Linked DNA regions of Homo sapiens: region 1 is linked to region 2. The links are contacts of gene promoters, found by promoter capture Hi-C in blood cells and fetal thymus (Javierre and others, 2016). All regions are on one chromosome and are shown on one strand. The core of a region is centred on a gene start or on the middle of the fragment in contact, and the rest is flanking DNA. Distances in the headings are between cores, read along the strand shown. Region 1 has its middle 10 kb from the start of OR10D3. Region 2 holds the start of ZNF202 (zinc finger protein 202).

Region 1 (6,884 bases), core at 177-2,676, 450 kb before region 2:
TTTAAGACCTAGTAAGAGAAATGTACTATTTTGTTCTTTTAACTTAAATTATTCTATAATCCTTTTTCCATGCTGCTAAAATAATTTTGATAGCCAATAATAATGACCATATGTTTTATTAAGTCAACACATTATATTTTGCCTAATGTTATCCATATCTGAATATTTAAATGCCATTGTTCTTGCCATTTGAAATGAATTGGCATTACATATATTTTTCCTTTAGAATAATTTCTCAATATTAGACTCCTAGGGCCAAAGTATATAAACATATCAATTTATCTTATTTGTATTTAAAAGTTCCTTTTCTGAAGGATGTTACCAATGTGTTTTAAACTTCTGAATGAACCATGCTGCTTTATTCCTTTGTACTTTCACAAATCCTGCTCTTTTTCTTCCTCCATGACTTTTTTTTTTTTGCAGAGCTGACTTTTATTATCTGTTATAAAATTTAATATTTATTCCCTTATTGCATGTTTTTTTCTCATATCTCTCCCCATTTTGAGACAGGTATTCCTCTTAAGTGCTGTCATAAAATCCTGCGTGTTCATATATTGTTGCAATCATCACCTTCAGGGGTAGGGTAAATGCCTTGTTGGACTTGTAAATTCAACTCCTGTCACTATACAAAACATAGAATAGATAATAAATACTCCTGGAATGAACACATAAATCAATAAATGCTACCAGTAGTGTAAAAATGTTGTGGGGCTTCTGTAGCTTTGTTAATATATAGTTTGATTATTTACTATTTAATATTAGTTTGCTTATTCAGTAGATATAAAATGGTATCATCATGTCACATTGTATACTATATTTTTCAAAATTAATAGTCACATTAAGGATCTATATTTATTAGTTCAATTTTCTTTGCATTAATTGTAACTTATTTCATTACATGTTTGAAATGATCATGTTGATATGTTTCTACATGTTCGATTCAATTTTAAACCTACATGTAATTTTGTATACTATTGTTCGAAAAATTTTATATTTTGGAATATATTTTATATTTTGAAATATAAATTATATCTTCTCCATTATTTGATAATGTATGTATAGTTTATCTTCTTTTAATTGAGTCCCTTCAGCATATGTGAAGTATAACATACGTAGAAATTAGAAACACAGCCTGGAAAGTGCAATGTAATGTAAGGTGAAATATTACGGTATTTATCATCTAAAATTAGAATACAGAGGAAGCATAGCCTATGTCTTCTCACCAGTATCAAGTCAGACTTTTTGCAGGAGAATTTTGACAGATTTTGAAAACAATGAATTGCATCCCAGAGAGTGGAAACAGCCTATCCAAATATACCAAAGTTTGATATAGTTAGTTTTGGAAAAATGACAAATAATTTGGTGAGTTTAGAGTGTAAGGCCTGATGGGAAAAATGGACAAGGCCATGAGACTGGGCACTGAGATACAGACAGATTATAAAAATCATTGTATATCATATTAGAGTAGATTTTACTCTAAAGTTAGTAAGGAGACATAAAATATTTTAATGCATGGGAATTAACATGATCAGATCTACTCTGCGTGTAAATATCTATGCAGAGGTTGTCATTTCTTCCAAATTACCAATGAACTTGTAAAACAAATTTCCTCTTCTGTCCCTGCCCTTCCAAAAGCACACATCATGATTACCCCTAAAGCCAAGGAGAACTGGTCGTTCTGTGCTAAGGTTGGAGATGATCCTATGTCCATCAGGGGGCGATAGAGCACAGTTTGCAGAATACGGATTATCATGTGGCCTCCAGGCTGGCACAATTTGTTGTCCAGCTACTGACTTCTTAGACTGCATCACATAACTAACATGCTGCCAGAATCCTATCTGTAGAGCTAATATAGACTAAATAGGAGATAGGGACCATGGCTGTCATATTAGTGCAGGGACAGAGACCGGGGAAAAGATCAGAAGAACTAGGGATGATTTGAAGATTCTAGGAGAGCCTGCATGTCCTTCTTTTGGATCACAGCCAAAAAGGCAAGGAGAGGACAAAAGCAAGTTTCTCATTCTTGATCAGACCTCCCTTCCACCCTCCGGGACTTGCAATGGAGACTGTGCCCAGTGACTTGCTTTCAGTTTGGTAGGTTATGCGCTTAACATTCCCATGTTGTGATAGAGAGCTTGCCCAGAGGCACGGAGCCCAATGCAGTCACCCCTTTTCTCATATTACAGGAACATGAGACTCTAAAGAGGGAGGGGATTAAATCCTATTACTGGCATATCCGTCAAAGGGAAATTCCAAGTTTTTCAGCTCCTAGGTTGCTAAGAATCAAAACAAGAAAACATTCTTATGACCAGGAGTGGCAAATTCATATTCTCAGATTCATTACGAATTTACAATATACAATTCTAAAATCTAACATACCCTGTATGTTTACTACTTCCCTTTATCTAAATGCACAGCTATAACTAGAACTATATGAAAAATTATCAAAGATTGCTGTTCTCTAAAATGAAGCATACAGTTGAGACATATTGAGTATATATTGTCTTAGGGGTGACCTTTGTTCCCCAATTGTCACAACCACTATGGATCAGTTAGCAATAAATGTCTTGAGTTTTCATGTCATCATAAATGTAACTACTTATCAGAGTTTGTGAGTGTACTTCAAACTCTCATTACAAACTTGCTGAAACTGAACATCAGATCTACTACTGTAAGGTTGACTCTGGTCTTACTATTTCATATAAATTTCTAGATCTTTGTATTCTGTTTAGTTAAAAACTATGGTCATCCTATTTCACTTCACTCATACTGTTTTTTCTCAGATGGGTGGTATTTGTCAAGAGTATATGTACTTCCAAAGAAAATGAGATTTCAAAGGAGAAACATTTCTTTTAGCTTGGAGCATTAAGGAAAGCTTTGGCAAGAAAACAATGTTTGGATGGTGTCCTGAAAAATGAGCATAATTTGGTCCTATGGAGAACAACGAAACTGACATCCCAAACAGAGGCCACATGAAGACTAGGACTCAGAGTCATCAAAAGCAGGGAATATGTGAGAAATACACCAAAATTCAGGATCCACGATAGAGCACAATGTGAGAAACATGGCCTAACACGGCAACAGAATAGCTTAATTTAGGACTGAACTGGAGAATCCAGACCATGTTGTCAGCGTTGGTTTGGAAAATTACAAAGGAGTTTGAGTTGGCTTGTGGAGAAGTCAAAAATAAAAGAGAAATAGGAATAAAATTGGTGACAGAGATCAGAACCAGATGTTAAAAAGCTTCAAATGTTAAACTCAATATAGTCAGCCTTGACATCAATAGGAAATGGAAACATACCAAAGAAATTTTTAGCAAGAGAGCAAAATGATTTTGTCAATGTTTTATATGGCAAAACTGGCAGCAGTTAAAAAAACAAAGTGAAATTACAGAAATGAAATCATGATTGAGAAATATAAGCAATTAGGTTAGTTTTTTTCAGAAATATTTGTAACTAGATGACTGTGGTTTAAAATTTAAAAGAAAAAGGTATTGAAATGCCCTATTGAGGAACAGGGTTGACTACTCTCACCCGGGATTAATTATTTAAGGTGGCGGGACCAAAACAAAACCTAACTAGTCAGGCCCTTCCACTCTTGAGCTATACTCAAAAGAGAGCTTAACCTCAGTGAATCTGTTACGTATAAAGACTTCCTCCTTTGAGAAACTCTATTTCCCTCTTTCTCTCTCTCTCTTTAAAATGCAAAACAGAATTTATTTACATAATTGTTTGAATAGTTGTATTGCCTTTTACTTCATTATTTTTTAAAATGATAAGACATCTCACAATCTTGCATTTATTTGCTTTCTTTTTAAAATTTTTAGCTTTTTTATTTCAATAGGTTTTTGGAGAACAGGTGGTGTTTGGTTACATGAGTAAGTTCTTTAGTGGTGATTTCTGAGAGTGCTGATGGGTGATGACGGGTGCACCCATCACCCGAGCAGTGTACACTGTATCCAGTGTGTAGTCTTTTATCCCTCACCACCCCCTACCCTGAGTCCCCAAAGTCCAATTCATTGTTCTTATGCCTTTGCATCCTGATAGCTTAGCTCCCACATATGAATGAGAACATGTGATGTTTGATTTTCCATTCTTGAGTCACTTCACTTAGAATAATAGTCTCCAATTCCATCCAGGTTACTGCGAATGCCATTATTTCATTTATTTTTATGGGGCTGAGTAGTATTTCATGATATATATATGTTATATATATTATATATATTATATATAATAATTATAATATATAAAATATATATAATATATAATATAGTAGTATATTCCATTGTATATATACAATAGTGTATACTGTATATACACCATTTCACGGTGTGTGTGTGTGTGTGTGTATATGTGTGTGTATATATATATATATAACCTTTTCTTTATTCACTTGTTGATTGATGATATACTTTCTTATGTAATTTTCACAACGGTTCCATGAGATAAGTAGAATTACTCTCATAATTTTCCCCATAACAAAGCAGACTTAGATCCAGGTATTTTTCTTCATAATATCTAAGATTTATCCGGAGACCCTGCCCATGAGCTCAAGGAGAAATGAACAGTGTATGGGTCACAACTAAGAATCATGAAGTGAATAATTTCATTAGATGAAGTTTTGGGGGAAGGATCAAGTCCTGAAGTATGCAGCAAACTTCCCACAGAAGTAAGCAAAGCTACAGAACAGATCTGATGAAAGAGGTGGAGAGCAGCCATCACTGGGTGGTGTCATGGAATCTAGGAGGAAAGAGCCTTCGTGTTTATTTATTTGGAGGATGCTAGAAAGAACAATTTTGACAGAGTGGACTGGGAAATAAACCAGTAGATCTGAGGATTCAGACCACTGATGGGAGAGGTTTGGTAGTTTAAAGAAGCTCTGTGATAATGATCATTGGATCTGTGAGCAGATGACTTTGAGATTTTCAGTACCCTCCTGGTCATGTGTCTTATGAGCATAAGTGTCAACCATATCTTGCTGACTATGAGACTTTCCACTTGATAAAACTGAGCATCTCTTTATCTGATCCTCTGTGGGGATTATCATGAGTTGGGAATGTGTTTTAAAAGAGATGCTCGATTTTCCTGTGGCTTATGCTTCAGTGTCTACTATCACTAATACATAAGTAGGTTAGCATGCACAGGGGCTTAGCATGATTCATTTAAGTTTGGAAAATTAAGAGCCCATGTTATGTATGATCTTAAACATATAACAAGTAGTATGTAACAAAATATAACATGATTCACTCACATTTGCAAAAAGTTTAAGTGGTATAATTCACATAATGTAGGGCAGAGAAACTAGAGTTCTGATCCAGTCTTAGTCCTGCCATGAGGTTGCTGCATGCGCTCCAATAATGCAGGAGAAAGAGTCCTTGGTGGTAAATGGCTGAGTTGGTACAACCTACATCTGATGGTGCAGAGGTCAGTGGGTGTTAAGTGTTAGGTACTTCCCACAGGGGTAGAAGAGAGCAGATTCCTCTCCATTCTGTTGGTGGAGTGCTCTGCCCACTCTATTCTTGGCACTGGCTGGACTTGCAAATGCTCTTGGCTGAGCTAAGTCATAACCAGCCTCCACACTTTTATTGAATCTTCATTGCCAAGTTCTCCTTTGATTCATAGAGAAGTAAAGTGTCCACATAATTTATTTTACACATCAGAACACTTTTTAGAGTGTTAACACTATTAAAAATCATGTATAAACTATCCTGGCAAATCTGAATATATGGCCTTTTCTACAAAGGGCACTTCATGATAAGAAACTCGTTCATGATTAGGCTCCATTCTACCATCTCCTTCTCTCTTCCTGCTTTCTCCTGTCTTTCACTTCCGCCTCCAATCATCTTTTATTATAACAATATCGTTCTCCCTGGAAATAGTGTGCTTGGTACATACCCATGCTTCCACAAGATGTCCCCTGCTTTCTGATTCCGCACTTTCTAACCCTCTGTCTGATGTTTATTCACACTCCCCTCCATGCATCCCTCATAGCCTGGCTCACATCCCACCTTTCCTGCAAAGCCTTCCCAAACAGCCTAGGCAGAAATAATTGGTCACTTCTCCATGCTCTCATTGCTTCTCAGAATTTATGATGCTGATGTAATGAAATTATTAAAAGAAAGATCACTGGAGACTGTGAGAATTGGAGAAGGAAGAAGGAAACACTAAAAGCAGCTCAATAGTCAAAGACAGATTTATGATGGAGAATAAACTTGAGAGGGGTTTCTGGCCAAGTTAGGTCAGGAGCACTCTCTCTTACAGACTAAGAGTATTTAAGGGTTTAGGGCAGAGAGCTTATCACAGGCTCAGAATGTTTCTATGTCTCTTTGTCTTGCTTATCTGGGAGGGAGAGTTTTTGTGTCTGTTCCTGTACATCTTCCTGCAGCTGCAGGCTTACCCCCCAGAGTCTGCTTTTAGCTTCCCTATCTTAGTGCACCTAAAGAGAAAGGAATGTGCTTATTAGGGCCCACTGTTTTACTGGGGCCCATTGTATGAGTGTAAATTTGGTGGTTACCCAAGAGACTTTCCCCCCTCCCTCTGTGCCCAAGCTGTCTTATCTGTGTTTTACTGTCTGCTCTTTCTGGCTGCTTGTTGTTAGAAGAGAAGTGATTTCCTTGAAATACATGAGGTTAGAAAGGGAGCTGGAACTTAAAATGGTGGTGTTTGTCCAAGATGACGGTGTTCCTGCTCTGTGAGAGACAGCCTGCAAGACATCCTAGCTTTGTGACTTACTAGCTGGAAACATTTCTTAACTTCTGTGTGTCTCAGTTTTCTCCTGTATAAAATGAGATAATAGGATTATGGTGAGGACCGCATGAGTTAATGTAGGTAAAGTAAAGCGCTTGAGAGTAATACCTAGCACGCGGTAAGCCCTAAGAAAGTGTG
Region 2 (5,952 bases), core at 2,103-4,602:
AAGAAAGTTCAGTCTCACCATTAACGATGGGAAGGCAAAGTAAAACAATTAGATATTATTTTTGCCCATTAAACTGGCTGAGATTTACAATTCCGGCAACATGAGGTAAGGGCATGGATACAGGGAAAAAATCTTGTATACTGTTGTTAAGGGTGTAAACAGGTGCATTCATTTGGGAGGAAAACTTGGCAGTATTCATTAAAAGTGTGCAACCTTTGACCCAGCAATACTCTTTCTCAGTATCCGTCTCAGAGTACCATTGCATGTACGCACAAAGAGGGTGATCATTATAGCATTGTTTGTAATCCCAACAATTATAAAAACTTATGTTTTCAACAGGCAAATTGCTATTCAGACTATGGAATGTTATGCAGAAAGCAGAAGGAATAAGGGAGATTTTTATTTACCGCTATCAACAGATCTCCAAGGCCCACTGCTAAGAGAAAACAAATGGAAGAATTCAACATGAACACACAGGTATACACACAAGTACACAGAAAATAATACTATGTACTTTCTGTGGATACATATGTACACAGCACATGAAAATAAAAATATCTGGAAGATAAATACATTAGGGTCATAAGAACAGCTAACTTCTGGAGAGAGAGGAGGAAGCCAGGGTTGGTAAAAATGTCATTAGCGGCCAGGCATGGTGGCTCATGCCTGTAATCCCAGCACTTGTGGGAGGCTGAGGCTGGTGGATCGGGAGGTCAAGAGATTGAGACCATCCTAGCCAACATGGTGAAACCCCATCTCTACTAAAAATACAAAAATTAGCTGGGCATGGTGGTGCATGCCTGTAGTCTCAGCTACTCGGGAGGCTGAGGCAGGAGAATCGCTTTAACCCGGGAGGTCGAGGTTGCAGTGAGCCGGGATGGTGCCACTGCACTCCAGCCTGGTGGCAGAGTGAGACTCCGTCCCAAAAAAAAAAAAAAAGTCATTAGCTTTATCCATTGACAAAATCTCTTTTCTTCGCCAAACTTGTCAGGCTTCTGAAACTTCTCCTAGGGCTATCGGCGTACTTCCTTGTAAAATCTACTGTTAGCAAAGAACTCTAAGTCCTTTGGCAGGAACGCCCCCATCCTTGATATCTGACCATCCTTAATACCTGGTCAGTGTCCTCATCCTCCATCACGCCCCAGGTGATGTCTGATCAACCTGGCCTGTCTTCAGCAAGAATCCTATTAGGTTGACTTAGCCAGAATCCGCCTTAAGCCTGATGTTTCCCCTTAGTAATTTTCAATCCATCGACGTCCCAAACTCCAAAAAAAGTTCCTTGACTATAAATTCCCACTTGCCCATTCTGTATTCAGAGTTCAGCCCAATCTCTCATCCCTACAGCAAGACTTCATTGCAGTGGTTTCTTTACCTTTCCTGGTCCTGAATAAGGTCTCCCTTACCATGCTCTAACAAGTATCACTGAATAATTTTTCCTTTAACACTGTAATGCATTAAATGTTTAGAAGAAGATGTTTATGTATTATTTATGCACTTAATACCAATATTTTAAAATATTCAATGAGATTTACAGAGAAAAATATTTGGTACACAGTAGGCTTTCATGAAATGTATATTTCTCTTTGTATTGGGTAATTTTATGTGTCAACTTGACTAGCTAAGGGATGCCCAGACAACAGAAAACATTATTAGTCGGTGTGTCTGTGAGGGTGTTTCTGGCCAATATGGTGAAACCCCCTCTCTACTAAAAATACACACACACAAAAAAAAAATAGCTGGGCATGGTGGCACATGCCTGTAATCCCAGCTATTCGGGAGGCTGAGGCAGGAGAATTGCTTGAACCCAGGAGGCAGACATTGCAGTAAGCCGAGATCGCTGGGCGACAGAGCAAGACTCTGTCCAAAAAAAAAAAAAAAAAAAAAAAAGAGAGAGAGATTAGCATTTGAATCAGTAGACTGAGTAAAGAAAATCACTCTCACCACTATGCGTAGGCACCATCCAATCCATTGAGGGCCCAAATAGTATAAAAAGGCAGAGGAAAAGTAAATTCACCTCTCTCTTCTTGAGCTGGGACATCATCTCCTCCTGCTCTCTGGCCTTCAGACACCAGCACCTCAATCCCTTTCCAGTTCTCAGGCCTTCAGCTTTAGACTGAATTATACCACCAACCTCCTTATTTCTCCAGCTTGCAGTAAGCAGATGGTGGGACTTCTCAACGTCCATAATTATGTAAGCCAACTCCTTATAATAAATCTCCTTTTATATGTTTATACATACCCCGTGTGAAAGGAAAGTGATTTGGGGCCCCCAAAATCACTAAAGGGAAAATTCATGCTGGGAACTGCTTAGGGCAAACCTGCCTCCCCTTCTATTCAAAGTCACCTCTCTGCTCACTGAGATAAATGCATATCTGATTGCCTCCTTCCGGAGAGGCTAATCAGCAACTCAATGCAACCATTTGTGTCTTATCTACCTATGACCTGGAAGCCCCCTCCCCGCTTTGAGTTGTCCTGCCTTCTGGGTTCACACCTATTAGTTCTGTTTCGCTAATACACTGCCACTCCACCAAAAGTAACTAATCCTTTGGTTCAAACCCAGTAAACAGATCCCAGCAATGTGTCCCATGAAAAGGAAGTGGCACATGGCACGTGGAGAGTGGTGACTTACAGGGTAAAAGGGACAGAGAGCAAAGGAAAATGTCAAGTATGGGCAGAAAGGTCACCGAACGGACAAAAATGAACAAATGAGATCAGGGAAGACAGCCTGAAAGTAAAGAAATACGAAGCAACACTCAAAGGAAAAGAAAGAACAGTGATACCATAACTATTTTCTTTCTGAGCTTCTGATGTTCCATTCAGTTCATGTGCAATGTATCATTTAGTCCTCAGAGTAACGGTATTATTATGCCCGTTTTATATGATGCACAATAGGGTTCAAAGATGGAGAGATTCGGCCGAGGCCCTGCTGCTGATGGTGACTGCAAGAGCCAGTATTCAAACCTAACGCTGCCCTTTTCTACCATGTTGCAGCGGACAATGCAAAGAAAAAAAAATCAAGAAAAACACGTAGAGGTATCCAAATGAAAACAAACACACAAAAGATCAAAAACAGAAAAGAAAAAAGAAAAGAAAAAGAAAACCCTTGCAGAAGGTATGCCTGTAAATGAAAGGCCCAAGATGTTAATTTATTCGCTGCAGAGTGGAGTTAGGGGTCGCGGACGGCAGCTGTGGGGTCCGAGGCTTCTTCGCACTGGGTCCTTGGGGAGCACTGAGCCGCAACCCGCGGAGGGCGCATAGAGAGGATCAAACCTCCCACAGCCTAGAAAGGCTCCTACTCGGCGAGAAGGCGGGGCGAGCGATCGCTTCCGGTTCCGGGCGCAAAGGCCCCACGTGTTCCGACCCGCTAGGCCCCGCGCGGCTCGGATCCGGCGGCGCTGTTTCGGTCGGGAGTGGGTGGGAGAGAAGCCGGGGCAGGGGAGGAGCCGCCGGAGCTGTCGGAGCCGTGAGTCCTGAGTGGGCTGGGCTGGGCCGGGCCGGGCTGGACCGGGCCGGACCAGATCGGGCAGAGCCGGGCAGGGCGGGGAGGAGGGGGAGGGACCGGAGACCCCGCCCCCCAGAGTCTGGGGAAATCGCCGTGTCCTGGGGAAGGGGTGGCGGCGGTGTACTGAGGGTGCCGAGACGTTGTGGTCTCTGTGTTTCCTGGTGGCCGGAGCCAGTATCTCCGGGGACACGGATGGCGCTCCCGGCTTCCTTTCCTTTCCAGCCACCGCCCTCCGCCCCCTCCTGGGGCCTGCAGAAATGTAGTTAGTCCGTACCTCGTACCTCCTAACGCTTCCGCGCCAACTGTCCCCCCGGAACCGAGGGAGGAGTGGTCTAGGCCCCTTTATTTTCCGCAGCTTTTTCTTACCCCTCCTCTCAGATTGCTTAAGATCATCTCCGCGGGCTCCTTGCCCCGGCTAGCCCCATCTCCTTACACCACCAAGCCCCCCTCAGCCCCCCAGCACACACCCAGATACACTCACCCGTGATCTTGTCACCTGTGATGATAGTAGTCCTTGGCGTCCATTTGGCCAGAGGCTTTTCAGCTGCCACTGTGACAGACCCTGAGGTCCCCTCAAGCCAGTAGCTGCTGTCTCCACTTGCAACTTTCCTCTCCTCCCACTCCTAACAGCCAGTTTTGGCACCTCTTCTCAGCACCTGCGTTACTTTTAGCAGGAGTATACCTACTTCTTGAGTGTCTTGATTAAAAATTTGTTTTTGTGCCATGGATAGGCTGTGTTCCTTCAGAAAGGTGTCAGTCTAATTTTTGTTTTTCTGAACAATGAATGTTCTCATCTTCTAGGCGCTTTGATAACCCTGTCTGCCTTGGAATCTGTACTGACCTCCCCAGAGGGAGACTCTTAGACCCAGCCTTTCTTGAACAACCTTGGTCCTGGGGAGCAGCGCTAGATCCCAGGCTCTCAATTAGAGGCTGGGCTTAGAACTGTTGCTTTTTCTCTATCCACGCTCTGCAGGTGACACCCAGGGCAGCTACACTCAGAAGCCACAAGGAATGCTAGTGGAGCCCCTCATCCCTCCCAGCTTCTCTTCCAAGCTGCCCCGTGGGGCTTGATCCAGGAAGCTACTTCAGAAAGGTTGTGGGATAGCCTTGGGAGGAGGTTTGTTGGTGGGAAGCGTGTGAACGCGGAGCAGTCTGGGATAACTTTCTGCTGTTACTATCTAGCATAAGAGGGTGGGCAGGGTTGGAGAGAGGACAGGAATTTTTCCTCCTAGGACCAAACGCCTGGGATTCATAATCTTTCACCCTTTCTCCTCCAGCTATACCCTTTTTGTACTCTGTGTATATACTATATTGCAGTAGACAATCATTCCAAGGGTACAACAAGGTTTACCACAATGTGAGGGACTCAGCCATTGCAAATTGTACAGATGAGGTAAGTTACAGGTTTACATTTTTTTTTCCCAGTAAATTTGGCACAGATTTAAAATGTGAAACAGTTCTATACCCCTTGTTTTTGCTGTTCTCTCACCAGCAAACCCTTTAGTTTGGCCAGCAATGGCTTTCTGCATGAACTTCAGATTTACTTCATTTGCTAGGTGGTGGTTCTCAAACTTACTATAAGCACCTGAAGGGCTAGTTAAACGCATATTGCTGGGGCCCACCCCTAGAGTTTCTGGTAATAGGTCTGTGCTGGGGCTTGAGAATTTGTACTTCTAACAAGGCTCAGGTACTGATGCTGCAGATCTGGGTTCTTCACTTTGAGAACAACTACCTTTTGGCCAAATGTGATATATGTATTGCAGTAGGTTGAGGTTCAGAATACCTTTGTTTGAGTACTTCTGTGTTGGAAACTAGTAATCTGATCTTTTATAGATAATCACTTAGGTCTGAATATTTTGTTCGCAAAATTAAGAAAGCGTACTTAAAACAACTGAATGCTATATGCCAAATTTGAGGTGAAATATTGATAAGTTCTTCCCCTTGATTTTCTTAATTCTCTTGATAGGGGCTTCACGTTTTGATCAAAATATTACACCTGTATTCTGGGCTTTTGCTGTGAATTCCTAGTATTGCTAAAATTCTGCAATTTCTTAACTACCTGTTAAGTTCCTCAAGGTCAGAGCTTCTGCTTTTTTTATCTTTCTTTGCCCAGCACCTTGAATAGTGTGGGACACGTAATTGACGCTCAGTAGATATTTGTGTATTGAACTCCATCCCTTGTCCTCCTCCCCTCTTGATGTTTTTCTCTACTGGCCTTATGCTACACAGTAAAGCAGGGCATGATTATGCCACTTGATTACCCCCAAGAGATTGGAATAAATGCTTATGCCAAATTCCTACAGCTATCCCTGTGAATGGTTTATTACCCAGGAGCCCTGACACTGGCTGATTTCTGAATTTTCAGTGCTTCTGTAATATATACTAGTTGGGGGAGGAGAAATAGAAAGCTTAAACTCAATGTGCGTTTATTGAATACCTTTTCTACTAAG

What was found. Contacts are between HindIII fragments. The CHiCAGO score rates a contact against its expected background, and 5 or more counts as called.
Region 1: a fragment that was not itself captured here is called in contact with the fragment with the promoter of ZNF202 in region 2 in 1 of 17 cell types (monocytes); the score reaches 6.2 in monocytes.

Annotation. Positions count from the first base shown.
Region 1 is chr11:124,190,148-124,197,031 of GRCh38, reverse strand. No RefSeq gene overlaps it. Among named protein-coding and RNA genes, the nearest start is that of OR10D3, 10 kb to the right of the region's middle. The HindIII fragment of the contact is 2,903 bases long and covers 1-2,877 here.
Region 2 is chr11:123,739,060-123,745,011 of GRCh38, reverse strand. It overlaps ZNF202 (zinc finger protein 202), which reads left to right and starts at 3,352. Exons shown (of 9, transcript NM_003455.4): 1 at 3,352-3,463; 2 at 4,476-4,595; 3 at 4,820-4,895. RefSeq lists enhancers at 2,170-2,767, 3,757-3,966 and silencers at 3,357-3,406, 3,447-3,576. The HindIII fragment of the contact is 6,844 bases long and covers 1-5,912 here.